Linked DNA regions of Homo sapiens: regions 1, 2 and 3 are each linked to region 4. Evidence: promoter capture Hi-C in 16 types of primary human blood cells and fetal thymus (Javierre and others, 2016). All regions are on one chromosome and are shown on one strand. Each heading gives the region's core, a stretch centred on a gene start or on the middle of the fragment in contact. The rest is flanking DNA. Distances are from core to core; before and after follow the strand shown. Region 1 overlaps GABRB1 (gamma-aminobutyric acid type A receptor subunit beta1). Region 2 overlaps GABRB1 (gamma-aminobutyric acid type A receptor subunit beta1). Region 3 overlaps GABRB1 (gamma-aminobutyric acid type A receptor subunit beta1). Region 4 holds the start of COX7B2 (cytochrome c oxidase subunit 7B2).

Region 1 (7,094 bases), core at 2,407-4,906, 480 kb before region 4:
TTCAATACATATTTTTGAATAAATAAGTTAATATTGTTTGCTGCTTAGAGTTTTGAGTTTATGGTCCCAAACTGGTAATCTGATAGAGGGACCTATTTGGTATATTCTTGAGCCTAATTTACTCCCTGATGAAGGACACCTTCACAGAGGCCTTACAGGTAAGTCTGGGCACCAAGGAAATGCAAAAATCTGTGTATTAATTTTAGGCTTACTGAGTTAACTAAGTGACAGAAGTGATGGACTACAACCTCAAGCTGGTCTTTGAATTATAAGATCCTAGGTGAGAAACATATAAGCACCAGTTAGCTGAGAGTCAGTGATGGTTTGCCGCTTGCAGTTGAGGTGGGGAGAAGGGTGAGTCAAAACAGCACCTCACATTATCTCCCGCTTCTGAAGAGCAGCAGAGCATGTCAATACTACACAAAATAAAAAAGCTGGACTATGACTACTGATCAATAGAGATTTTAATAATATTCAACAATTTATCCAGTCAGTGGTCTGGGTCTTTATTTCCAAGCTCACACGCACTTTGTTTAACTAAAACCCATTAGGCTTAGTGTTCAAGGCAGAGGTAATTACAGATGATTTGGGGAAAAAAAGAAGGCTTACTCCTTTTCTTTCTTTTGTTTTTTTCTTTGAGACGGAGTCTTGCTCTTTTGCCCAGGCTGGAGTGCAGTGGGGTGATCCTGGCTCACTGCAATCTCCACCTCCCATGTTCAAGCAATTCTCCTGCCTCAGCCTCCTGAGTAGCTGGGATTACAGGCACGTGCCACCACACCCTGCTAATTTTTGTATTCTTAGTGGAGACAGGGTTTCACCATGTTGGCCAGGCTGGTCTCTAACTCTTGACCTCATGACCCGTCCCCCTCGGCCTCCCAAAGTGCTGTCATTAGAGGCATGACCCACCGTGCCCGGCCAGCTTACTCCTCTCCAAGTAGAAGCTTGAGTTTTCATGGGAGCAATAATGGCAGTTAGATCCAAAGGAAAGAATACTGGCTTTGAAATACACTATTATTTCAAAGGTTACACAAGAACATTTTGCCACAGAGTGAGAACATCAATTTACTCACACCTAAACAACCTATTTTACCAAAGGTTTTCTTTTATGAACCAGTGACTTCACACAGTATCTCAGAGCTGAACACTTGGATACCAAGGATGTTGTTTCCTAGCAACAATAACTATACAGGAACTCTTGAAATTTCCTTTCAGCCCCTGGGGATTTCTTAGTGGTGAAGAAAGTACAGATAAAATTAAGTTGATGTCAATGGATAAAGATGCATGGAGTTAGTACAATTGTAGAAGTATCTGGGATGTTAGTATTCTTTTGGTACTTGAAACACTCTATTTTGGATGCATTTTCTAATTTGAAAATAAAAATTACTCCCCACTGTGCTTAATAGAGCTAGGGGGATGGTCTAGTCTTGTACGTAAATGTGTTTCAGATAATGCAGACATTTAAGCTTCTAATCCATGGGTGGGCAGAAATAAGTTTATGTCCTGTTGTGGAGCAGTTGTAACCCAATCTCAAATTTCATGGTGTGGATCTTGATTGGCTTAGGCCAATCATTAAAATATGGTGAATGGCTCAGGGTTAGGCAACAATCCAGGTCTAAAACAATTATCTCATAGCAGTCCCCTGGCCAAATTAGTTGCTTGGCAATAGGCATGTGATCCAAGTTGATCCAGTCCCAAAGAAACCTAGAACTTTTCTTCAATAGTCGGAGGAAAGGTAAATTTCTTTTTCTCTTTTAGCTGTTTGCAAACATGAATGTTGAGTGGAGAGTACCTGGTCCTTACAGGAGCCAGTATGTTTCCTTCCTGTTTACATCAGTTGCACCTAATTAAAGTATCCTAAATGACACTCAAAATCAGCATTTCAACTATTGTTAGAAAATAACCTACTGAAATAAGCATAGTGGTCTACCACTCCCTAATTCCTCTTACTCTTCCCACATGAGAGGAGACATATTAGGAATTTATCAAGAGCTCTGCTGTTGTAGCAATGTAGATTGCTTTACACTACAGAGTTATTGGATATTTGGAATTGTGCATCTTAGCTTCAGATAAGAGAGTCAACTGGGTTTAATTTTTCCAGTGGCTCCAGATGTGCATAACAATTATTCAAAAGGCTACTTTGGGTTCCTTTCTCATGGAACTTTGTATCTCCATGACACCCCAAGAAGCAGCAAATAAACTATGGAAGCCAGATTTTTAAAACATTCTCACAGTTAAAGGCAAAATGCAACAACCCATTTAATGTTTGATTCCTGATAACCCACTGTTTGAATGGTCATCCACTGCTTACAGATAGCCATATTACTACTTTCTGAGTCTGCTCGGTAGTTAATTAGGTTTTTAGATAATTGTGAGAGAACATTTTCAACGGTCCATTTTCAAGGCATGATAAATCTAAGCACTGGCAGCCCGCTTGCAAATGAAACAAACCTTACAGCTCATGCACCTAGAAGGTCACAATAAGAGAACAGAATGCAGAGGAAGGGTCAGCCCATAAAAGGGAAGACAGTTTTGTTATTGAGAAATCAAATCTTAAGCAGGGAAGGGGATGGGGATAACCTTATAAGGGGATAATGAAACTTAGGTGATGTCCAGGAAAATTGTAACCCCACAGTACTCAACCAATGAGGAACTGGGGGAGGAACTTTGTGTAAGAGATAAATTACTTGATGTGACTTCCCCAAGTGTGCCTGCCCACCAAACACCCAATCTTGCAAAGCCATTATTAAAAAGTCTCACTTTCACTGTTCTTCATACCTCTAAGTCCATTCTTTGGGTTTGGATGGGTGAGTGTGTTTCTGATAATAATCATTAGAAAACATGTTCTATCATAAGTAAAAATTCATCTTCTTGGAGAGTATCCACCATGACATCCTTGCCCACCTCTGTGTTAACAGAAAACAAACCCAATCCTTTTTTTCTTTTTTTAACATAATAACACCTCCCATCTTTGAGAACACTTTTCATGCTCCCTTTCTTTTATTCTCCAGGCTCTGGTCCTTCCCAGGGTATGCTCAGTCTTAGGAACTTTTTTCTGCTCACAGTTTCCAGTTTGCTTACATGTCCCATGAAGTATGCAGCCCTAAACTTAGGGGTAGTCATGTCTACCTTGTTTCTTTTACCACTTTTTGGGTTATCTGTCTTCTTTCTCTATTGCACAGACCTGTCCCCAAGGTTAATTCTGCCCTTGTTATGGAGCCACTCTTGATTGACATAAGAATTAAGCAGCAGCAGATTTGGACGTATCCCCAGATTTGCGATCATAGAATCCAACCATGTTTTCTGATTTCTTTAGCATCCTCTGGAAAGCCCCATTACTTCCAACCAGATCTAGGACCTAACACACCTAAAGCAAGGTCAGGATACTCAGGCTTCTCCCTACTCCATTTCGACCCTGGCATTTTCTATGTTTGGACAATATGTAAATTCCCAGAGTGACTTTTCTAGAGCCCGGTTTCTTCATATCTGACTGTTTACACTGCCTAGTCTATTAATCCTTGTCTACACTAGACCATACCCATTTAAAGGCATTTAGACTCCAGGCATTATATCAAATACATTAAAATGTATTCACATTCCATGTTAAACATAATTTACATATCACTATAAAACATTTAATTGCAGCTTATTTGTTAACATGTTATACTAATTTTAATATTGTAATATTCTTTATGTATTTTGGAGCCAATAATCCGTTTAAGACCCTTGATTAATTTGTAGATGTAGACACTTTGCCTATAATGCGTGTTGGCTATATGGCTGAACCTTTGACACCAATGGGACTCTAGTGCAACGGCCAAGATCTCCTTCCGAGCTTTATTTATTTGGAATATGTCCAACTCCTCTTAAATTTCCCACTGATAGAAATTCTGCTGCCACCATTAGATCTCCTGACCCTGATTGTGGCCCTTCCTGACTTTTAAATTGGCTGTCTACCTGTAATTTCTCAAGATGAAATTGCCTGCCAGGTTGAACTGCATGTGATAGGCATCCATCTGGGCTATTCAGCTGGGGTTAAGCCTCTATACAACCCTGTTCTGACCTCCTCTACCATTTTTCTGGTCCCATGTGGATGAGATCCCCCCATGCCTGCCCAAGTCATGACATTCTTGGAGTGACTGGCTAGCAAAGTCTAGTCACTGGTCTTCCATTAAAGCAGCACAAGTTCAAATTCGCTTTTTCCACAATCAAATGGTTTTTACTTTCTTTTGGACTCACACATAAGAACTAATATTGTTCCCATTTAATTGTATCGAGCCAGTTTGATAATTTTATCTAATTCAATTTGACTTACTATTTTAGCCTATTGAGTTTTTGCTTTTTGAGATGGAGTCTCACTCTGTGGCCCAGGCTGGAGTGCAGTGGCACAATCTTGGCTTATTGCAACCTCTACCTCCCAGGTTCAAGTGATTCTCCTGCCTCAGCCTCCAGAGTAGCTGGGATTACAAGTGCATAACACCATAAAAAAAATTAGGCCATCTAATTTTTATATTTTTAGCAGAGATGGGGTTTCTTCATGTTGACCAGGCTGGTCTTGAATTCTGACCTCAGGTGATCCACCCGTCTTGGCCTCCCAAAGTGGGATTACAGTCATGAGTCACTGTGCCTGGGCTATTTTTGTTTCTGGATGCTGATTTGCTCAACCTCTTAGTTTCATGTTATCTGCAAATTTGAAAAACATGCCTTTTATCATTATTCCCTTGATTGAGACAAATGTGGACTGGCAGAGACAAAGACAGAGCCCTGTAAGATTTCCCTGGTAATATTCCTGTAGGATGAATCAGGTCTTTAATCAGCACTTTGTGGGGTGACACCATCATTTATCCATTTAATATTTTCCTAATTGTTTAGCCTTTCGTCTATATCTCTATGTTTCTCATATTTTTCTTGATTGATTTTGCAGCCTATCAGATAAGAAAGTAAGGTCTGTTAGACTTATTTTTAGAAACATCAAGCTGCTTCCATAGATTACTGATTCTCCTTTTACAGAATGTGGGGTTACTATATTGCCCAGAATGCTTCAATTTCATCAGCTTAAGTGTCTGTTGAATTTTTTTTTCCTTCCTTCTTGGACAATGGAATGATGTATTTCATTCTATAAACACAAATAGCCATGTGGTGTACTAATGTCTGTAGGCTCATGATAATATCCTCCCACTCACAAGGTCTGCTTTCCTTTATACATGCTAATGGAGCTATATTGCATTAATTTATGTAGGTACATATGTTTTAGGTACATTGCTAGCCAAAGATCACAGTGACGGTTACTCAATGGCCCCAATACACAGTGAAGTAAAGGATAATCACACCTGCAAATGCTAAAAATCTTATTGTCTGTATTGATGTGCTTGTTATCAATAAAATCTCAAAACAAACAGCTTGTAGCCTCTACATTTTATTTGTCTTCATAGTCAAAGGGGAGAATATTTTATGTCTCAGAAAAAAATCCTTAGTCATCTATTTCTGTGGCATAATAAATATATATGTGATTTTGTCCCTCATTCCTGACACAGAGCTCTTAAATATCTTGGAATTTCTTGGGTGACAGCAGCATCTCTCATTTTAATGCAGTGATTCTGGTGAGCATCTAGATGGCTTCAGGATGGGGGCTGGTTGTCAAAAAGACCATACCCAGATTAGAAGCCTGAAACTTTCACAGTCCCCACCTCAACCTCCAGAGAGCAGAGAAAAGCTGTAGATTGAGTTAATAATCCATCATGCCTATGTGATGAAACTTCCATAAAACCCACTAATGTTCAAAGACCTTCCAGGCTGGTGAACACATCAAGGTGCTGGGAGGGTGGCATGCCTGGAGAGGGCATGAAAGCTTTGCACCCCCACAACTCCCTGCCATTCTTTGCCCTATGTGTCTCTTTCATCTGGCTGCTCCTGAGTTGTATAAACCAGTAGTAGTAAGTAGACTGTTTTCCTGAGTTCTGTGAGACATTCCGGCAAATTGTCAAACCTAGAGGGAGGTTTGTGGGAGCCCCTGATTTGAAGCTAAGTAGGACAGAGTTGTGGGTAACCCGGGAACCCAATGCTTGTGAATGGCATCAGAAGTGAATGCAGTCTTCTGGGACCGAGGCATTAAACCTGTGGAGTCTGACTCTGGAGTCTAACTCTTGAGTGTTAGAATCAGAATTGAATTGTAAGAGATCCACTTGGTGTCCAGAGAGTAGGAGAATTGGTTGGTGTGAGGCAAACCCAAACATTTGGTGTCAGAAATGTTGTGAGTAAAAGCAGTTCAGAGTTTTCAATTTATTTTAATAATCACAGAGTAGATTTCTCTTAGATACCTGTGGTCAAATCTTTTACAGTCTTGAAATCCTGTTGCATCGTCTATACATGTAATAAACATCTCAATTCTCGGCACCTCCCTTCTTAAAATAATCTCAGGTGAGAAATGAAAATAAATTGTGACTGTTTACTCTTGTTCTTAATTTCCACTGAGATCTGGGTACAACCTTCTCAAAAAGATGAGTTTCACAGTACTGTAACCAAATAAAACATGTACTCCTTGCAAAGTTTGTGAGAAATCTCTTTCAAAATTCAGACAACCTTGACTTATTATTGTTATCATGGAATAGAGAGGATCTTGCTGTTCAACTAGTCTCAGATGAGGTCATGGCATTATTATGATAGGATGTTGCCTCTGCCAGTAATTTCTGCTCTGGTTAAAAAGGAAGATTGAAACCTCTTTCCACTTTGAAACATTTGTTTGGTTGTAGGCAAAGTCTTTCGTGTTAATATTCTCCGGAAAGTGTAATGACAGCGTTCACTAGGACAAATGAAAAGGAATTAACCCCATGTGCAAAGAAGCTAAACTAGTGTGTCAGTATCATAATGTTTTTAAAGATTGTTTTCAAATTGAGTGTTAAGAATGCCTAATCTATTTGGCATCCTTAAAGATGTGCATCATTGCTTTATTTTAAAAAATAAAAAACAAAATCAGGCCTAGTGTAGAAAAGGGAGTCACCTCTGATTTTGACAGGCACTTAGTGTGTCAAATATGCCTTTATTTTCTGAAGTGTAAACTACCTTTAAGGATAATAAGATCATGGACAAGTAAAATAGAA
Region 2 (6,531 bases), core at 357-2,856, 360 kb before region 4:
GAGGATTTTATTCTGCAAAGCTCCTGTATAACATGATAGATGGAAATGTTCAAGAATACAGCACAGAAATTATAGAGGCATATATTAAACAGGGAGGTTCTTAAGGCTTTTTAAAGCCAACGCACCATAAGGATTTTTTGTCTTTTGGCTTTTTTCCTTAGGATGCTGTAGGTAGGTAATCTAAATTATGGATACTTGGTTTATGGATAATTAACTACTGAATAAACGAGAGTTCACTACAGTGAACTCATCATTACAGTAACGGTTCACATCATCTAGTCTGTGAATAATTGATTATGGTACTCCTGCCCTGCTTCTTGGCCCTGTTTATTGCTTATAAGCAGTCCCATAAAGTTAAACTCAGGTTTCGTCAGAAAGCAGGAATAAAATGTATACAGAGATATTCATTATAGCACTATTTATAACAGCAAAATCTGGAAACAACCTACTTGTTCAATAATAGATTAGTAGTTAAATAAATTTTGGCTTCTCTGGGTAAAGGAATATTTTGGATGTAGTGGGATAGTGTTTGTAAGGAAAACTTCATTATAATTACATGCTTAAAACATAAGAGACAGAGGAATACCTAAAGTATTTGACATCTAGGGTGAATTATTTTTAATTTTTTCCCTCCTTTCTATAGATCAAAATTATTTTCACTGATTAATTTCTGTAATTACCAGTTATAATTTTTAAAATTTATTTAGTTAATATAGAACCATAAAGTATAACAAATAATAATGTTAAAAAAGAAGCATGAATTATAGAATTCTTATCTTGAACTTTTTCATATGTAATCATGCCAGTAAAGAAAACGGAATAAAATAAAATGTAAAAATGAATAACACAGTACTAAGAATGAAAATAAACAAATTAGTATTTTTAGACTACATTTTTTTAAAGAAGGGGAGGGGAAGCCACAATACTTCCAAACATTGGATTCCCAGTGTTTCAGAGAATGATCTGCACATACAAAGACATAGTTGAAGTAACTCAACTTCTGTTTATCTTTACAACCATTATGTTGCCACTTTTTATTAAAATCTACTAGTTAAGTGCAGGAATATACAGCACAGGAGTTGAATACATGAACTGCATCCAAAGTGAGCTTGAATGATTCTAAATCCTATAGAACTAACTTTCCAAAAGAGAGGAACACGGGTAGTTAATTATGTGTGTCATGGACCATACATGGAGTCGTTTGGATTAATTCTCATGTACATAACAAAGTTATTAATGTGTAACTAATGAAAATGTGCTCATTTGAAGCTTAAATATATACTAGTAAAACTCACCCATGTCTTCATTAATTGTTTAGAACCTAGATCAACAAAAAGGATTTGAAGAAAAAGAATATTTTCTCCCTGATATTTAGGATCACTGGAACATTGTGAGACTATGAGGCAGGCTGAATTTTACTTGATTTTATTTATTAATCGTTGCTTTTAATTTCTCTATATGTTCCTTCCCCCTTATTGCTTGCATCTGAGGTGAACCACTTCCACTGTCCCACTCCTGAAACGTTACTGATGATATATCTCTGAAAGAAAGAAAATAATATAAAATTGTGTATAGGGTAAACTGGAAAGGAGCCTCTGAAGCTGCCTTCTGCACAAAGAAGGCTGAAATGGCCCAGTGAGATTTCTGGGGTTTATAGCATTTGTGATACCTGAAATAAGTGTGCCACCTGGGCCAGGACTGATTAAGCCAGGGAAAGAGATGCCCCATATTGGATGGTGGCCAACAGACAAATCAGTGCCTCTTTCTGGAGAAGTAGGAATGCCAAATGCGCAGATGAGGTAGGTTAATTACATTTGAGTATTCATTAAACTGTTGTTTTGGTTCTCATGATGTCAGTCTTGGAAACACTGCCACCCACATGATTATCTACTATATTTTGAGGTTTTATTTTAGGCAATAAACCTTTTATTATCCAAGCTTATCTCTGTGGCCAAACTTAAATAATGGTTTAGTTTATAAATATGAACAAATAAAATAGGGCTATACTATAAATACTAGCAGGGAATATATAAACATGTTAATAATGGGTAGGCTCTCAGGGCTGTGAGATAATAAATGCACTTTTCCCCTAACATTTTCCTGCATTTTCTATATTATTTATCATGAACGTGTGTTGATGACATGTCAGAAAAATATTATCAGAGATAACTTTATTTTATATTTTCAACTTGATTGCCTTTAAAAGGAGAGAAGAAACAACCTTTATAAATTCTTTGCATAGAAGTAAGTTCTTTGCTTTGGTAAAACTAGTACATTTTATACTAATAGCACAAACTAAAAGTGCTATAACCTGCTGAGACTAAATACAGTTTAACCTGGGCTGGTTATCTTAATTTGTGTTCGTATGCTATAGGATAAACAAACCATTTGAAGTTCTTCCAGGGAAGTAAGAGACCAAGATAATGGTCAGGTAGTTACCTTGGACAGCAAAGGTGAAGTTGGGTTAGTGCTTTTGACAATCTCTTGCCTATACTGAAAGGTTATTTTTGAAGACAAGAGTACCGAATGTTCCAAGCTCCCACTGTTGTCATGGAAACATTTCAGCTAGCTGAATAGGTTAGGAGGATTTTATGTTCCCCACTCTGACAAATACAAGAAGGCATGATCCTAGCTTTGCATTTCTAATCAGAAAACTTCAGTTTTCAATTCTTCTAGCACTTGATTAGTCAAATTTTCTTAATGTTTCCCTCCCCACTCCACAACAGAAAGCAACAGGCAATTCTCTTTTAAAAATTATTCCCACTTTAGAAGCAGAGCCAAAATTGTGACTGGGCTGACCTTGCTGTGCTTGGGAGTAATATTGCTTGCAGCTCTGAAAGGCTCCTGCAGGTTAATTTAGGCTCCTGCAGAAACTCTTCTGATTTGTACTCACTTTCAGTGGTTTCCTGGAGGTAAACTCACTTACTAATAGGCAGGAATTATTCCTCATTTTAGCAGCAACAGACTGCCAACAGTAGCTTATAATGCACAGGTAAGCTTTTGGAAAATGGCATCCTAAGGCTAAAACCAAAACAGCCATGTCATGTGCATACATTCAGAGCCAGCCAATCAGACTTTTTCCTATTATTTATCTGTAACAGCCCTCAACACTGTTTTGGAAGATAGAAATAGTCTAAGAATCCAAAGGCGAACTGGACAACTAACAACTGCATTGCAGGCAAAAGACTGACCAATTAGGTTGAGCTAGTTGAAGCTGGAATTTGTTGGACTTCTTTAAGAGTCATCAGACTCAGCCTGTGTGTGTGTGTGTGTGTGTGTGTGTGTGTGTGTGTGTGTAGGGAGAGTTGACAAGGACACCTTAGAGCATCAGGTTTGTTAAGTAGTGAATAATGTAAAAATTAAGTTTGATGTAACAATTAAGAATGTGGGCTCTTCTAGCTATGTGAATTTGAGGAGTTCCTCTTGCATCTCAGCTTCTTTATCAGTATAACGGAAATGCTTGTGGTGAGAATTAAAGAGTTAATACATGTACATAGTGTATCATCCCCGACACATAATACATGTTAAGTAGCTATATTTGGCATGACAAAGACACGGGGAAGAAAGAAAACAAAAGAGCATAAAAACATAGAATAGAGAAAAAGAATATAAGAGAAAAGGACCAGGAAAGAATGAGGTGCATCTGGCTATAAGGTAATCTCTTTTCTAGTTGCCTCAATTGTTGGATGTTGACAAAAACCTACCCCCTCCCCCACACCTCACACTAAACCCCACTGGAGCCATCTATCACTGGATGCAACTAAGTGAAATGATTTTACAGAATTAATTTGACTAATATAATGGTTCTCATTATTTAATTAGCTCCAATGAAATTCTGTTTTCTGTTTTGTTAAACGTCCCAATGTCTGTTCTGCACTAATGCAATGATGCTTGCCTAAGAAACCTTAAGTTAATAAAGAAGTGCATAATGAAAAGTGCTGTTTCAATGGGGCAGAAAGGGTTTGTGATTAGAGGGTTTCAGCCTTGCCATAGCAGAATTATATTTCTTCTGAGAATTAAATAGTGTATTTAAAATACATCTGTATATTCTTCTTGCAAGCTAAAAGTAACAAATTGACTGATGCAAATGAATAAAAAAGAAATCAACCTGAACATCATTAAGTAAATCTCAAACAGTGCTTAAATTCAGACCAAAATAAATGATTTTGGAGACCATCAAAATAAGTTGTAGCACATGTTTCAACTCCAACATTAAACTAAAACATGGTTGCCAAATGAGAAACCAAAAATGAAAATAAAACAGCTTGGGTTTTCATTTTGCATGAAACACAGTTTTCCTATACTCACAAAATGGATTTTTGTATAAATGCTTTGTTTTTGAAGAGTTTTGTATAATAATAAATGATAACATGTACAGTGCAAAGTGTATCCTCCCTTTAGTCAATCACATTATGTCCAATATGTTATAAAATTTGCCCAGTAGAAAAAAGTTCTACTTCAGCTAGCTGATAGTAATAAGCATTTTAATGCTATCAGTACATATTGCTTTGTATTTATTCTCTTGCTTTTTCCATGTGGCTTTTCTCATTGAAATTACACATTTCAAAAATCTTTTTATTCAAACTAAGCACTTTTAGTGGATACTTACAAATGAATGGATGCATTAATGACTAAGTAATGGGGATTATGATTTGGGGAGCTTAGCGAATAGTAAAATTAAATGATACTCTTACCTTCTACAAATGAATTATTATTTAAATCAAATTTCATTTTAATGATGTAATACATGCACATAGGAAAAAAACTAAAAGATTTTAAGGAAATAAAGCATCCCCTACCCTTCTCTTTTCCACTCCTTAGGCTTTCTGAAGGAAATCATTTGAACCATTTTAGCTTTTTCTTCTGACGTTTTATATTTTGAAACATTCTTCTTTTGCAATGTATCCTAACAGCCAATTTTCTGACATCAACAGGGTGTCTAACAATTCAATTAAATCCAGAGTGAGTTTACTATTTCATTTTGTTGTAGCACATTTTACAGCAACTTTGTAAGAAAGTATATAAATGGAGGTAAATTTTTTTTAGTTTTGAAGTATCAGGTCATATTTTTACTCTTATATTAATAGATGATTTATTACACATGGAATTTTTGGGTTGAGTCATTTTATCTCAGGATTTTGAAAGTGCTTCTTCACTTTCTGTAGATTCCAGTTCTGCTGATGACAAGTCAAGTGCCATTCTTTTCCCTCCTCTTTGAATATGATTTAAGTTTTCTTCCTGGAACCTCTCTGAAATTTTTTTATCTTCAGGAGGTGCTAATTTCATAGTGATGGGCCTTCAAGTGCATCTTTTTAATTTATTGATCTGGGAATTTTGGCGAGTCTTTCAACATGACAACTTACTTTTTTTTTCCAATCTATTAAAGTCATCTCCATTTATTTAACAATTTTCCTTTCTCTCTCTTTTTATTTTTTTTGAGATGGAATTTCACTCTTGTCACCCAGGCTGGAGTGCAATGGTGCAATCTCAGCTCACTGCAACCTCCGCCTCCCGGGTTCAAGCAATTCTCCTGCCTCAGCCTTCTGAGTAGCTGAGATTACAGCCGCCTGCCACCATGCCTGGCTAATTTTTATATTTTCAGTAGAGATGGGGTTTTGCATTGTTGGCCAGGCTTGTCTCGAACTCCTGACCGCAGGTGATCCGCCTGCCTCGGCCTCACAAGGTGCTGAGATTACAGGCGTGAGCCACCGCAACTGGCCTTCATTTTTTTTTTTCTTATTCTCTATGAAACTGTCATTTCGATGACTGAATCTTTAGTTGATATTTAAATTTTTTAGTTTTTTATCTTTCATTATTCATCTCTTTTCTTTTTTTCTACTTTCTATGAGGCTTGCTTGGTTTTTATTCCTACTCTTTCACTGATATTTTTTCCTTAAGAGCTATAATATTTTTAATTTCCAAGAACTCTTTTTTGTTGTTCTTTTAAAAACAACATACCATTTGTGTTTTATGTATAAAGTCTCATCTCTCTTTCTATGAAGGCACTTTTTAAAAATGCCTTTATTCTTGAAATAATTTTGTCTTGTTTGCTGTCTCTGTTTCTTTTAAATTCTATTTACCCCCTCTGTCTCTTAAGGAGAAAGATTTTTTTTCAAATTGCTAACACTCACTGTTTGCTGTTTGTTCATTTTAATAGTAAGGCATTTAAAAAGCAGGACAGGTATATTTAGAATTGTCGTATCTTCTTGTTGAATTGATCACTTTACCATTATATATTAATCTTCTTTGTTCTTTTTTACTGTTATCCACCAGAGCAACTAGATTCATAAAATAAACACTACTAGACCTGTGAAAAGAGATATACAGCAATACAGTAAGAGTGGGGGACTTCAACACTCCACAGAAAGCATTAAGCAGATCATCAAGACAGAAAATCAGCAAAGAAACACTGAACATAAACTGGACCCTCAACCAAATGGACCCAACAGACATTCACAGAATATTCTGTCCAGCAGTTGAAGAATATATATATTCTTCTTCTCTGTGCATGGAACATTCTCTAAATTAGAT
Region 3 (6,858 bases), core at 4,168-6,667, 460 kb before region 4:
AAAATGCCTTACTAAGATGCAGAAAGATTTTTTTAAACCAAATTATAAACAGCCGTTTTTGTAAACCTTGATGAGAAAAATAAAATTATTTTTGAGTGTGTGTGTGTTTGTGTGTGTCTCTTTCTGTTTCTTATAGTATAGGAAATCAGGTTTGGGACAGTTCTTTAGGAAATTGAAGAGAAGCATCTTTATATGTTTATATAAAATTTAATTTATCACTCTTTGTTTCTTTGAGTTTGACTACAAAATACAGTAAAAAGGAAGACAAATATTACAAAGATAAAAATAATAAAATAGCTACCCTTTTTTGCATGTTCATTGTCAGTAACTATTCTTGAAATTATGAAAAGTATGCATTTTTTTCTACTGCCATTTTATGAATGGTGATGTCTTGTGTGTTCATTATATTTTCATGGTACCAATTATTACTAGCTTAGAAGGGGACAAGATTAGGCCTGAAGAGGTTCTGAGTAAGAAAAGTATATCAGAATTGCAAGGAAATTTGGAAATTGGCTTCCTTAGTTTGCCAAGTGAAAACTAAGGCCCAAAGAGATTAAAAAACTTGGCTGAGTTCATACAATTAAGTTGAGCAATAACAAGTTTGGAATTAGAAAAAAGGATTAGATGAGGATATGGATAGATTTGCCCGTTGGCTTAATAACTGTTGTCACAAACTGCTACTGGTTTAATTCTAAGGAATATAAATTTGACGGAGGAAATTACCTATTTTGTAGAAATGAGTGTGTGTGTGTGTGTGTGTGTGTGTGTAAATAGAAAGAAAAGAAAAGTGAAGAGGTAATTATTGCAACAGGAGATTAGACACAAGAATAATAATTTCATGACTAAATAAGTCCAACTCTTCATTTTACTGAAAGGGAAGCCTGAAGCTCGGGACTGTGATTTGCTCAAGATCACACAACTAGTCAGTGGCAGAACAGGATTAAAAACCTCATCCCCAGTCCTATCCTCTGTCCACTAAGCTAAGTTCCTATATTTGTTGTTTGTTAGTATTGGGAACAAATTTAATATTTCTTAAGAGTTAGTCAATTTTGTTTTAATACAAAGAGCAACTTTAAAAAAAAATTTTTTTAAATTGAGACGGAGTCTCTCTCTGTTACCCAGGCTGGAGTGCAGTGATGTGATCTCGGCTCACTGCAACTTCTGCCTCCTGGGTTCACGCAATTCTCCTGCCTCAGCATGCCAAGTAGCTGGGATTACAGATGCCTGCCACCATGCTCAGCTAATTTTTGTATGTTTAGTAGAGACGGTGTTTCACCATGTTGGCCAGTCTGGTCTCAAACTCCTGACCTCAAGAGATCCACCTGCCTTGGTCTCCCAAAGTGTTGCGATTACAGGCATGAGCCACCATGCCTGGCCAAGAGCAACTTTTTATGAAAGTTTCAGTAGTGTATGACCACTAACATTATTTAAGTTTAAATAATGTTAGTGGTCATACACTGCTGAGACTATTAACATTCATAAAAACCTAGACTAAGGGTCTTAAGCAATGTGTGGTGAGAAAATCAGGTTAAAGTATGAGGGAAAAAACAACACTGGCTATCAGAATCCACGGTGCTGGGAGCTTGGGCCTGGCTCCCTGTAAGATTTCTGGGAATAATTAGAATTGTCCTAGAGCAAGATTTCTTAGTGTTATCACCATTAGATTTTGTACTAGATAATTATTTGCCCTGAGGAGCTATCCTGTGCATGGTATGATGTTGAGCAGTATCCCTGGCCTTTACCCACTCAATGCCAGTAGCACCTCCCCTCCCCTGTTATGACAACCACAAGTGCCTCCAGACATTGCCAAATGTCACCAGGTGGTGATGGGGAGGGATTGCTGCAGTTGAAAAACCACAGGCTTAAACTGATAGGCCTGAGCCCATGGGTGTTGGGGAGTAGATAATACCAACTAGGGACGTGGCCAGGAGACTGGAGGAAGTAGGCATGGTAGTTCTTGACACCCTTCAATTTGAGGATATTTATATGTTGACTCCTAGTTAGGCTGCATATACACATAAGCAGGGGTGGAGATTCCAATTATGGGAAATGCCTTTGGACATCTTCAAACAAGGGCTTCATGTCTCTGGATGGTAGTAGAGATATAATATTGGGCTTGGAGTTCCCACTCCCAGAGCTTTCTGCTGCCTATAACCATGGGTAGCAACATGATTCATCTTTAGGGTTCTAGTTATGGAAAGTCCGTTACTGTTGCGATAGATACTTAGGCAGATATTGGCTGCCCTCCACTTCCTTTTCCTTTGTTTCATGTGAGCTAGAATGTGGTTATAATCAGTCAGCCTTTACTGCAAGGACAAGGGCAACTTGTGGGGCATGGCACAGCCAAAACTGGCTGGGGTTTCTGTACATCCTTTTGGAGCAGAGCCATTTACTTACCTTGGCTCTGTTCTACAAGAGAAGAACAAGTGCTTCATTCCTGCTAGTGAATTGTGGGGTTTATTTGTTCTAGCAATCTGGTCTGTGTCCCACCTAATATACAGGGCAATGTGATAAGATGAACATTGAGGAGATAAAGGTTGGAGACTGGCAAGAAACTACAAAGAGCTGCCACACGGGACAGCAAAGGAGTTCTAGGGAAAGCAAAACATTTACTTGATTAGACTTTTCTGCATCTGTCATTTGTTGGTTCCTTTTGGGTAGAAGATCAATTACCAGCATTTTTCTTTTTGGGGTAGTCGAAGATCTCTACAAGCAGATAAGAGAAGTGCAGTGAAGTCATCTCTTTTCTGTCAGGTTGACTCCGTAGAGCCGCCTTTGGAGGATAGAATAAGCTTTGACTTTAGCCATAAATTACTTATTGAATTTCTATTTTCTGCCAATGGAGATGTGAGACTGACAGAGATACTAGACATGGTAGCTTTCTAAAGTTGCTTACAGTCTAAGCAGGGACTTCTAAGCTATTGGGAGACACATACCTTAAAATAGTATATGATAAATTAATCAGTAAGCAGTAAGATCTCTAGAGATAGTAGTGCTTGGAATGAGCTGTGAGTGGTGGATATAATAATGGTAATGCCTACTAATTATTTAGCACATGACATGTGCCAGCAGTGCTCAGATAAGCAGAGAGGAGGATAAAGGCCATTTCAGGCAGGTAATAGTGAGGTGTGGAAGGAGGGAAGTCAGAATGCATATGGTGGTAGCTATGTCCAGGTATGGCAGAAGCAACACCTTGTGTAGCTTTGGAATTGGGAGATGTCACACTACTTTGGTACCCTAGGTTATAATCCACTTACACAACCTAATATGCCACACATAATGTCACAAAATCTCAGAAAAAAATTTAATAGTCTAAAAAGTAGTATAAATTAAAATTTAATAGCACATGAAATCAGGTAAGTTGTGAAGCTTAAGTCACAGTTTTAATTCTTCCATGACAGTGAAAACCTTGCAACTTTTCATCATAATGGAAACTAAACTTGGAGGAAAATTACGAATGTCATCTCATGAAAAAGTCTACCTCTGCCACATGACATTATTCTTCAGTTACTGAAGAAGGCAAGAAGAAAATATGTTTCAAAAGGGGGGATAATGTTGAGATTTTTTTTTTTATTTTCCCATCTTATGCTATGCTCCTAATACAAGGTCTGTCTGTAGCAGTGGATAAAATAGGAGACTCAGTTTGGAGCCAGATTGTGGATCTCAAATGGTTGAATTTATCCTATGGACAATGAGTAGCAACTGAGGCTTTTAAAAACCAGTGGGTAGCATAATGAGAATGTCTTTACAGAGAAATGTATCTGGCTGCAGTGCTTAGAATAGGTAGGTGGAGAACAAAACTGGAGGAAGAGATGCTAGCTAAGAATTGTGTTTGGAATAATTCATGCTTATGTTGTAATTTGAGGGCCATTAGGAGACACTCTGCTACCTGAGTGAGAGACAATACATTTTCCGGCAGAGATTAGCTTATGGAGACTCACCTGCATGCACACTGAAGAGATCTGTGTCTTGGGAAAATGGTTCAATATACAGATAAATTTGGACAAGAAAGGAAGTCAGACACATTCCAGATGGCACAATAGCTTTATGAGACCTGGAATTGTTCAAAATGGGAACCTATGTTGAGTCTATGGGTAGTATGAGGGCACTGAATGTTGGGGTGAAGAATGCTAAAATTAAATTTGCCTATGACATACTTTTACCTACTGTGTCAATCAGGGTCCCAGCAGGAAACAGATGGCACACTCAATGTGAATAAATTGAGGAATTAATCAAAGGGCTATTTACAACTCTCAGGACTGGGCTAAGAGAAAGCAACAAGGTAAGAACTGGACAACAAAGCATCCTGAGGCAGGCAACAGCTAGGGAGCCAGTCACCACCACCTCTGGGCCTGAAGAGTCAAGGGAGAGAGCAGGTTAGCTGTGCTCAGAATCCAGAGGGTGTAGCTCAGGAGAAGGCCCTCAGGTAGGAGCCGTGGTCTTGGCAGAGGGATGGAGTCAATCCATGGCGATGAGCGAAATACAGGAATAAATACCTTGATCTCACTTTCCTCTTATCCTTTAATCTCCTGCCCATGCCTTTCATTGGTAAAATCAACCAGAAGACACGGAGTAAACAAGCCCATGACTGCAATCCAGATAGGTCACCCTCCCAGGACACAAAGCAGGCAGAGAAGGGAGGCAAGAGAAGGGGTATAGCGGGGGTGGAGCAAGGAAGACATCTGACATCAATCTTCCTGGTGTTGCTAATCGCTGGGTGGGAAGAAACAATCCTTACCCCAAATCCCTCTCCAATGGGCCTTCTTGTAAAATGAAAATTATCCTGAAAAAGGGTGAATTAAACTAACTCAAACTAAGTGGTAATTAACTAATAAATGAATGAGTGATAGATTAAAGGGCAGGAGGATATTGAAAGGACAAACAAACAAAAAAGTGAAACAGACTATCATTTGGAATTTTGCCTAGGGTTCACTGTATCTAAACTGCTGAAGCTTCTGTCTGTGTCTCTTAATTGTAGCAGTCATGCAAGCTGAGCTGAGGATTAGAGAGAAATTGTATTTTGTTTTCTATTCTTGGTCAGAGGGACCTCCATACAGGGACCGGAGAGGTGGAAGGATGTACAGGAACTGAGGATAGGTTTTCAGAGTGCAGTCAGCTAGGTGCTCACTGCTTTCCTCTCTTTGTCCTATTCCTTTTGTTTCCCTGTTATACCAAGAACATATTCTGTGGTGCAAATCAGCATCCTGATATTATTTTAGAATTTCTTGTTGCCATGGTGTATGTTGATTATTTAATTTTTTCCTTATTTCTATTTTAGTTTGTTCTGCTTCATTCTTTAGGGTTCTTATTTTTCCTTGTCTGTACTTTCTATCTCAAATTCTTTTTTTTCTATTCCATTTTAAGAAGGAAACAAATTTTAAGCAGTCTTTAAAAGAATTTTATGCGCATCTTCTAAGTATTGCTTTTAACTTGAATTTTCTTGTTTTAGCTTTTATCTTTCATTCCTTTAACTTTCATGTTTCCAGCTTTTTATCTCTCTGGTTCTAGCCCTTTATGTTTTTTATTTATGCTGGTTTTATCTTTAATCTTTCATCCTTCTTTCATGTTTAAATTTTTTTTAGTCTCACTGGTTTTAGTTTTTCTTTTCTTTTTTTTATTCTTTAAGTTTTATCTTTGTTGAACCTTCCATTTTCAGCCTGAAATTTTGCTTTATTTTCTTATCTTTTCCTTTTCTTTTTATTCTCAACTTTATTCTTTCATTTGCCTCAACTCCCTTCTCTGTCTTTATCATTTTAATAGCTTTTTTGCTCTTCCTCTTCTTGTTCTCCATCCCTTTCTTTTACTCCAACTTCTACTTTGTCTGATCTTTTTTTCTTTATTTTGTAATTTGCTTTTGTGCTACAAAAAGGCAAGAAGCTTGGCAACATGAAGAATACTCATAAAGTAAATTGGACAGTTTGGAGGCCTTTGTCCTTCCACTTTTTAATTATTCCCCTAATGGCCTCTCAGTTAACTGAGAGAGAATCTCCCCAAAATCCTCACTCTGGAAATCTCAAAAAATCCAAGGCAATGCCAGCCTCTTCTAGTGTCTTCTCTGTTGGTCTAAGTCCTAAATGTAAGGCTGCTGTTATATTGTGTCTCTGATGCATGCAGTTTTTATTGTGTGAATTTAGACCATTTCTATCTCCAGCGATCAGATAAATGTGTTATTGCATGAGAAGTAGATTAGTTTCTTTCCTCCCTTGATCTTAGAACTGTTGTTGAGATCTCCAGCTCATAAAAGAATATTCTCTGTCCTGATTAAGTGTTCTGGGAAGCTAGGGATGATTAACCTTAATATCTTCCTGACCCTGTCCAGGTGAACACTGTTTCTCTTTTATGATCTTCTGTTTATTCAGTACATCCCAGGGTGGTATTAATCACCTCTTATGCTCTAAGTACCATGACTGCCAGATGGTCTGATGGAGCTTAACTTGGAAACATTAAGAAAGGAGCAGGATTCCTTCCTTATTAGCCCTTTTGTTCCCAAGAGGAACTTATTAACCTAAATACAAAAGTATCCTCTAGTCTATTCATAGCAAACTTTACTTTAAAATGGACGAAACCTGTAATCCATTCTGTTTCTATTCTCTAATGGTAACCAGGGGACCAGATCATAGATTATTTTATAATAAGCCTCTTTCTGCTTACTGGTATTATAAATATGACCTGGGAGAGTGGTCATGTCTCCCTCTTTTTAACCCTGGGATAGCTGTTTCAGGATCCTGCAATCAGAGTGGGATGAGAAAACCCAAAAGTAAGAGAGACTGATTTTCGGGCCTGAGATGTGCCTTTTCCTCCCCCATAACCGACACATACAAAATTTGGCTAATCTCTAATTTTAAGTCATGGTCCATG
Region 4 (7,359 bases), core at 1,410-3,909:
ATACAACCACCATTCTATTAAATACATCATTAAGGATACTTACTAATAAAGGATGGTGGTCTGGGACACTAGCAGCACAGGAAAGTTAGAAAAACTATATTGTAAATATATATTTTATTATTTCCTAAAACTTACTTTAATTTATGCAGTCAAATTAAAAATTGGAAAATTCATTCTTCAAAAGAGGAAAACATCAGCTGTTATTGGGAATGTGATTTTATATGCAGTTCAAGCAATTTTAAAAATAAATTATTACTGTAGAATATGAACTTGAATTGGGAAGAACACAAGGTCCTAGGAGAAAATAAATATTCATAGTAAATTGAGAAACCTATGGGATAATTATATTCTTGGAATGGGCTGTGTTATGCACACAATTAATTAATGCATCTAAACTGCAATTGAAATATAAGCTGTAATTGTTAAAATTCACAAATAGAGTTATATGTAATAATTAGATGATCAATTTTTTTTGTGATAAAACTGGAATTGAGTAAAACAAACAAAAAAGTAGACTTAAACATAATAGCACGTTTCGTTTCTTTGTTGCTTCCAAACAGGACTTTAAAAATATTTGATCCTTAAAAAAAAATCTTTGTAAATAAACTTAAATTATCTACAAAAATAGTAAACTTTTAATGACAGAAAAAATTTGTTGAATTGTGTTAAAATCATTTGAAAATTTTCAAAGAATTCAATTGTTTTGCCAATAAAATACGGGTTTTGAAAATGTAGCAGACTGTAGTTATTAAAAACAAAGCCCATGACACAGGAAAATATTTAAAATACTCATTCAAAACCAAGGGATAATATGAACAAATTTAATTGGATCTTAAATCTTATATAATATTTAACTTTCACATTCTATAATTGTGCTTTGGAATATTTTAAATTTATATAATTTTTTTCATGGGATTTCTACTATAAGTAGTATAAATTCACATTTTTAGAGACATAAAATTTAAAAGGCTTTCCAATTTGCAGGATCTAAATTTGTTAAACCTTCAAAAGAGGCCGGGCGCCGTGGCTCATGCCTGTAATCCCAGCACTTTGGGAGGCCGAGGTGGGCGGATCACGAGGTCAGGAGTTCGAGACCAGTCTGGCCAACATAGTGAAACCCTGTCTTTATTAAAAATACACAAAAAATTAGCTGGGTGTGGTGGTGTGCACCTGTAATCCCATCTACTCAGGAGGCTGAGGCAGGAGAATCGCGTGAACCCGGGAAGGCAGAGGTTGCAGTGAGCCAAGAGGGTGCCACTGCACTCCAGCCTGGGAGACAGAACAAGACTCCATCAAAAACAAAAAAACAAAAAAACCTCAAAAGAATATAAATAACAACAAAATTAATGAAATTTGTCTCATACAAATATGTGCTGAAGATAGGTTACCTTACAGGCCAGAAGAAGGTACTTGCGAAAATATTTGGACTGAAAAAATTACATATTTCAAAATGAAAAAAATAGAAAGGGTATTTTCTGTTTAGCAGAATTTCTATGAGCTTATTTTCTCAATTTAAAATACTATAATACATGGTGAACAGTTAAGTGAAGATGTCAACAATTTGACATATATCACCCATAAAGTACATGTTTTAGAAGAGTATAGGCGATTTAAAAAGTTGACAAGTAATAATACCATATTAAAATATATTCTTTAGAAAATATCAGTGACCCAGTCTTATAGACCAAAACACTAATTAAAATACATCAGCATACAGCAAGAATGATCATTTTATTATACATATATATATTTTGAGATGGAGTTTCACTCTTGTTGCCCAGCTGGAGTGCAACGGCTCGATCTCGGCTCACTGCAACCTCCGCCACTGTGATTCAAGCCATTGTCCTGCCTCAGCCTCCAGAAGTAGTTGGGATTACAGGCATCCGACCCCACGCCCAGCTAATTTTTGTATTTTTAGTAGAGACAGGGTTTCACCACGTTGGCCAGGCTGATCTCAAACTGCTGACCTCAGGTGATCCACCTGCCTTGGCCTCCCAAAGTGCCATTTTATTATGTTCATATTATCAATACAGACTTTACAAAAAGTTTTAGCTTTAATATGTAATTATATCATTTTAATTTTTAGAACTAATTTCCTTTCCAAAATGAATTTTGAATTGCACTTTATTGGCCCACCAATATAAAGTCTCAAAATCTCAAAAAATAAGAAAACGTATAATTTTAATTAATTACATTGCCCTCTTTCACTCTCAAGGGTCTCAGTTTGGGCAAAATATTATGTGGTCATCATAATTAGCATCCTAGTATGCTTAGGAGAGATCAGATGGGCTACACGGGATTTATGACTTGCTTTGGGTTACAGGCAATCTCAAACTTTCCTAATCACCAAGTGGGATAAAGAAGTAACACGGAGCCAGGGGGCTTGCCAAGAGATAGCTGCGACATGGAAGGAAAAGATCCCAACAGGTGTCACTAGGAATTATGTTGGTAGGTAGGAACACCCATCTCAATTCTTTTGTTTGATTCATTACAGAGGGACTTATATTAGAAGAACTCTCCTAATGGCTGTCTTTTTAGTTCCTCCCGTGGAGATAGCAATCATCTATCTGATTGGTCAGTTTGGAACGCGCAGTCCTTCATGTGACCGCCTCTTCCTTTCACCTAAGGCGGAAACTGCTCACAGGAAGTACCTGTTTTACCCGACCCCTCCAGGCTGTAAAACGGAAAGGTTCGGAATTTGCCTCTGCGCCGTCTTTTTTTGCCTGTTACCTGTGACGTCCTTGGTAAGTTTGTCTCATTCTGGGGTTCGTTGTCAGTAAGCTGACAGTTATAAGACATGGTCTTCATTCATTGCTCTAACAGTTATCAGGAAATATTTTGAAATTTTTTTTTTTTTTTGAGACGGAGTCTCACTCTGTCACCCCAGGCTGGAGTGCAGTGACGCCATCTCGGCTCACTGCAAGCTCCGCCTCCCGGGTTCACGCCATTCTCCTGCCTCAGCCTCCCGAGTAGCTGGGACTACAGGGGCCCGCCACCACGCCTGGCTAATTTTTTTTTGTATTTTTAGTAGAGACGGGGTTTCACCATGTTAGCCAGGATGGTCTCGATCTCCTGACCTCGTGATCCACCCGCCTCGGCCTCCCAAAGTGTTGGGATTACAGGCGTGAGCCACTGCGCCCGGCCAGATTTTTTTTTTTTTTTTTTGCCACTTTCCTTTTTTGTTTCATTTCTCCCAGAGGGAATGGAAAGACGTTATATTTTGGACCTTCCTCTCACTCTGACATCTAGGACATAGGATGGGAGTAAAAGGAAAATTAAAAGGAAAGGAATTGCATGTTGCAGAGCGATTTGTGTAGTTGTATCTTCTGGCATGGCTAAAGTGGGAAGTGTTGCACTCTGGCAGAACTGGTCTAGGTACCGATCATATATGTTCAGCTGTAGTGGCAATTTTGCCCACAGGAGAGTAGCTGTTTGTATATAAGCAGGTTTGCATACCTTGGGCTGTGAGCAAAAGCCAATAAGCTTTGAGGGACTCAGCAAACAAAATCTGACCAGGAGTGTTGAGGCATCCCTATTAAACGGGTGTTGGTCACGTGATTATTGCTGCTTGGCTTTGAAATCTGTAGAGGCAGTTTTTTCTAAGTAGCCTTGACTGAGAGAAGGGTATGATTATAGTCTTTTTGTGTACGAGCCTTACAGATCTCAAAGTGGTTCTAGGATGGCCAGTGGTATTTGCAGGAAATGTTTAGTGCCAGGCCTACATAGGGGGCATAGATAGTCTGCTCAAATTCTGGCTGGGTGCAGTGGCTGACACCTGTAATCCCAGCAGTTTGGGAGGCCGAGGCGGGAGGATCACGAGATCAAGAGATCGAGACCATCCTGGCCAACAGGGTGAAACGCATCTCTACTAAAAATACAAAAATTAGCCAGGCGTGGTCGCACGCGCCTGTAGTCCCAGCTACTAGGGAGGCTGAGCCGGGAGAATCGCTTGAACCCGGGAGGCGGAGGTTGCAGTGAGCTGAGATCGTCTCATTTCACTCCAGCCTGGAAACAGAGAGAGACTCCGTCTCAAAAAAAAAAAAAAAAAAAAAAAAGTCTGCTCAAATTCTGATCTTTTATATTGTTTTGACTCCTCTTCAGAGACAAGAGATGGAAGTTTGGTGTGACAAGTCTTGGAGTTATCTGACTTGGCCATCGATTTAATAGTTGTTCCTATTTTTTTTTTTATCTCACAGTGGCTTTGAATTTAACAATTCTGTGTACTCTGGTCATAACTTTTGATCTTTGAGATTCACACTGTGACTCCACCCATAGGAGGTGCATATGGATATCAAATTACGGAGTTGGATATTAAATTAAAAAGCAATGGGAACCCTTCTTGTAAAGACCATATAGATTTTCATAAATCTTCATAAATTGAGGATGAGAAACCATTCAATACAATTATTGCAAAAACAGTGACTGAGAAAGCAATTAAAAAGTCTCATGATTGGAATATCTGGTTCTAAAAATCATTTTTGCTTAGGATTTTAGGTGCTAGCGTAGTTTAAAATTTATGCTTCATTGTTAATAGAGAGCAATGGAAAAATGGAAGCAAGAATAAAATAAGTTAGAGCTGGAGAAAAAGAAAAGTTTTTAGGAGCAAATTTGGGAAATTAGGACACCAGCTTAAGAGAAATGACATAGAAAATGAGATTTGAAGTTCAAGTAGAGGGAAATAGAGATTCAAGAGGATCTAAATGTTGTATGTCATAGGATTGGTAAAAGAAGAGTTTAAGAGTTTAGTTGTTACTTGATTGAGATAAGGACCTGAGTCAAATTAATCAAAAAGAGAAAGAGGCAAGATCTCAAATGGAATGGCTCCTTGAAAGAGAGTCAGGAAATAGGAAACTGTTAAGAAGTCACTGTTAAGGGATGACGTTAAAGGCAGAACTAAGACTAGGGAAATCTGTTGAACTTACAAAGTGTCATTAGGTGGTTTTCAAGGTAACATAGCCATTATAGATTTTGAACATAGTTACATTTTGTGCCTTGAAGGATTGTGCCCAAAAATTAGGATGCAAGACAAGGCTCAAGCAAGAGGGGCATATTGGAATGAGCCAGGCAAGAAGATAAATTCAGGCTTAAATAGACTAGATGTTGGTCTAATGAGAGAAAAGTTCCTGCATGGAACTATTTGTCTCAGGGAGGAAGAGGGGAAAATATGTGTTTGAATGGTAGATACTTTTAGTAAATTCAGAATTGAGTGATTTCATTGTTATTGATAGAGAAGAAGATTCTGGAACTTAAGAACTAGAGGAGTATGTTAGAAAAAAACTAATGCTTAGAAAAAAAATAAGGTAGTCAAGTATTCATTTCCAGCAAACAGCATTAATGCTATGTGTGTTGGAGAAGAGACCAAATTAATAAAAAGGTTAACCAGTTAGAAATTCAACTTCCTAAGTTGATTACATAGCTAAGAACAGTTAAAACTTTCTGAAAGATAGAAGGATAGAAGAAAATAAAAAGTAGAGGTGTGTTTCATTGTTGCAGAAAAATATGTAGCAGAAAAAAATGCTATTCAAGGTCTGTACAATTTTATGATGAAAGACAGGAGCACATGGAAAAGGAATTAGTTCTCTTTGGGCCCCTGGAGGCTCAGGCTTCAGGATCATCAGTTGCAGCTTCAATTCAGGAATCTGCTGAGAGTGATTTTCCAGCTGAAATAAATAGATGAGAGAGGAGACCCTCCCTGAGGGGCAGGTCACCAGCTTATCAATTCCATAACAAGAAACAGTGGAAAGAACTACTGTAATATAGGATTGAAATATATGGGGCCGGGTGCGGTGGCTCACGCCTGTAACCCCAGCACTTTGGGAGGCCGAGGCGGGTGGATCATGAGGTCAGGAGATCGAGACCATCCTGGCTAACAAGGTGAAACCCCGTCTCTACTAAAAATACAAAAAATTAGCCGGGCGCGGTGGCGGGCGCCTGTAGTCCCAGCTACTCGGGAGGCTGAGGAAGGAGAATGGCGTGAACCCGGGAAGCGGAGCTTGCAGTGAGCTGAGATTGCGCCACTGCAGTCCGCAGTCCGGCCTGGGCGACAGAGCGAGACTCCGTCTCAAAAAAAAAAAAAAAAAAAAAAAAAAGAAATATATGCTTATCAGAGATGGTAGGCTCTGTTTTGTAAGATAGAGTCCACCTTTAGCTGCACCAAAGTGGCAGAAACTGAGGGCTCAGAGAGGGAATGAAAATGAAAGTTTTAAAAACATATTGTAGAGGGAAAATTTTATACTTAATTAAAACCTGGTGAACTTGATTAGAAATTTTTAAACTTTTCTGTAAGGCAGGAATGTCTCAAATGTCATTCTCTGAGAGAGGCAACAGTATACTGAGTGCATTTTACTCCCAGGTAGGATGAATCGTTAATGTCAAAATTATCGTATTGATAGGAGTTTTCAGGATTTTGTGTTACTCACATAAATGACAAGCATCCTGATGAGGCTGCAACCAAGAATATTTTCATGTCCCCTTCTTCCTCTAGATGACATTCAGTTCCGGTTTCTAAGAACACAGTGTGCTTTGGGATAACTCTTTTAGGGTTTGGGAAAGTGGCTGTGTTGAAATTACATAGGTGTGGGGACAGTTGTGTTGAGTACATGTATTCTTTTAGTATTGTTTTTGAACCATACATTTGCGAAGTTAAAACAGATGGAAAAATGTAAATTTGACAAACCTTACTTCTATTCATATATTTACCCATGCCTACAGGTTCTATTTATTTAGTTGTTTGTTGCTTAAAAAAAAAAAACTTGTATAATACTTAAGTGTCCAAATACAGTCCTATGTACTTTGCAAATATTAACTCATTTATATCTTGTATCAACTCTCTGAGGTAAGAATTTCTATACTCCCCATTTTAAAAATAGGCTCGAAAAGGTTTTAATTTGAAAGTGGCAGAAGTAGACTTAGGCAATCTGGCTTCAGAGTCATAAGTAAGTAAGTAATCCATTTAGTAGGTTCTACCATACTATGCATACCTAATGTGTTGTCTTTTAACATGCAGACACATACAAATAGGAATCCATGTTCTTAATTTTTCCTTTTCTCTACAAAAGATAGCAAACTTCACACACTCTGCTCTGTACCTCATTTTTTTTCAGTCAACTGCATGTTTTCAATATGTGGAAAACTTTTCCTCGTTGCATGGAATTAATATTTTGTGATGTGAATGTATCATAAACAGTTTCCTGCTAGTGGATGCTTGCATGTATAAATTCCTAAAAGTAGAATTGCTGTATCAAAAGATAAATGCCTGTGTAATGTTTGTGTATTACCAAATTTCTCCCTGTATATGTTGTACTATTTTGCATTCTTCTTATGGTGTGAGATCTGTTTCGTTAACAGAGTATTATGAAA

What was found. Contacts are between HindIII fragments. The CHiCAGO score rates a contact against its expected background, and 5 or more counts as called.
Region 1: a fragment that was not itself captured here is called in contact with the fragment with the promoter of COX7B2 in region 4 in 1 of 17 cell types (M0 macrophages); the score reaches 5.0 in M0 macrophages.
Region 2: a fragment that was not itself captured here is called in contact with the fragment with the promoter of COX7B2 in region 4 in 1 of 17 cell types (monocytes); the score reaches 5.1 in monocytes.
Region 3: a fragment that was not itself captured here is called in contact with the fragment with the promoter of COX7B2 in region 4 in 1 of 17 cell types (M0 macrophages); the score reaches 5.2 in M0 macrophages.

What each region holds. Positions count from the first base shown.
Region 1 is chr4:47,384,719-47,391,812 of GRCh38, reverse strand. All of the region lies in intron 5 of GABRB1 (gamma-aminobutyric acid type A receptor subunit beta1), which reads right to left. Among named protein-coding and RNA genes, the nearest start is that of COMMD8, 75 kb to the left of the region's middle. RefSeq lists a silencer at 263-322. The HindIII fragment of the contact is 4,382 bases long and covers 1,466-5,847 here.
Region 2 is chr4:47,266,702-47,273,232 of GRCh38, reverse strand. All of the region lies in intron 4 of GABRB1 (gamma-aminobutyric acid type A receptor subunit beta1), which reads right to left. Among named protein-coding and RNA genes, the nearest start is that of COMMD8, 190 kb to the left of the region's middle. The HindIII fragment of the contact is 669 bases long and covers 1,272-1,940 here.
Region 3 is chr4:47,363,345-47,370,202 of GRCh38, reverse strand. The region is part of intron 5 of GABRB1 (gamma-aminobutyric acid type A receptor subunit beta1); the gene reads right to left. Among named protein-coding and RNA genes, the nearest start is that of COMMD8, 97 kb to the left of the region's middle. The HindIII fragment of the contact is 925 bases long and covers 4,955-5,879 here.
Region 4 is chr4:46,904,545-46,911,903 of GRCh38, reverse strand. It overlaps COX7B2 (cytochrome c oxidase subunit 7B2), which reads left to right and starts at 2,659. Exons shown (of 3, transcript NM_130902.3): 1 at 2,659-2,744. The HindIII fragment of the contact is 4,961 bases long and covers 1-3,485 here.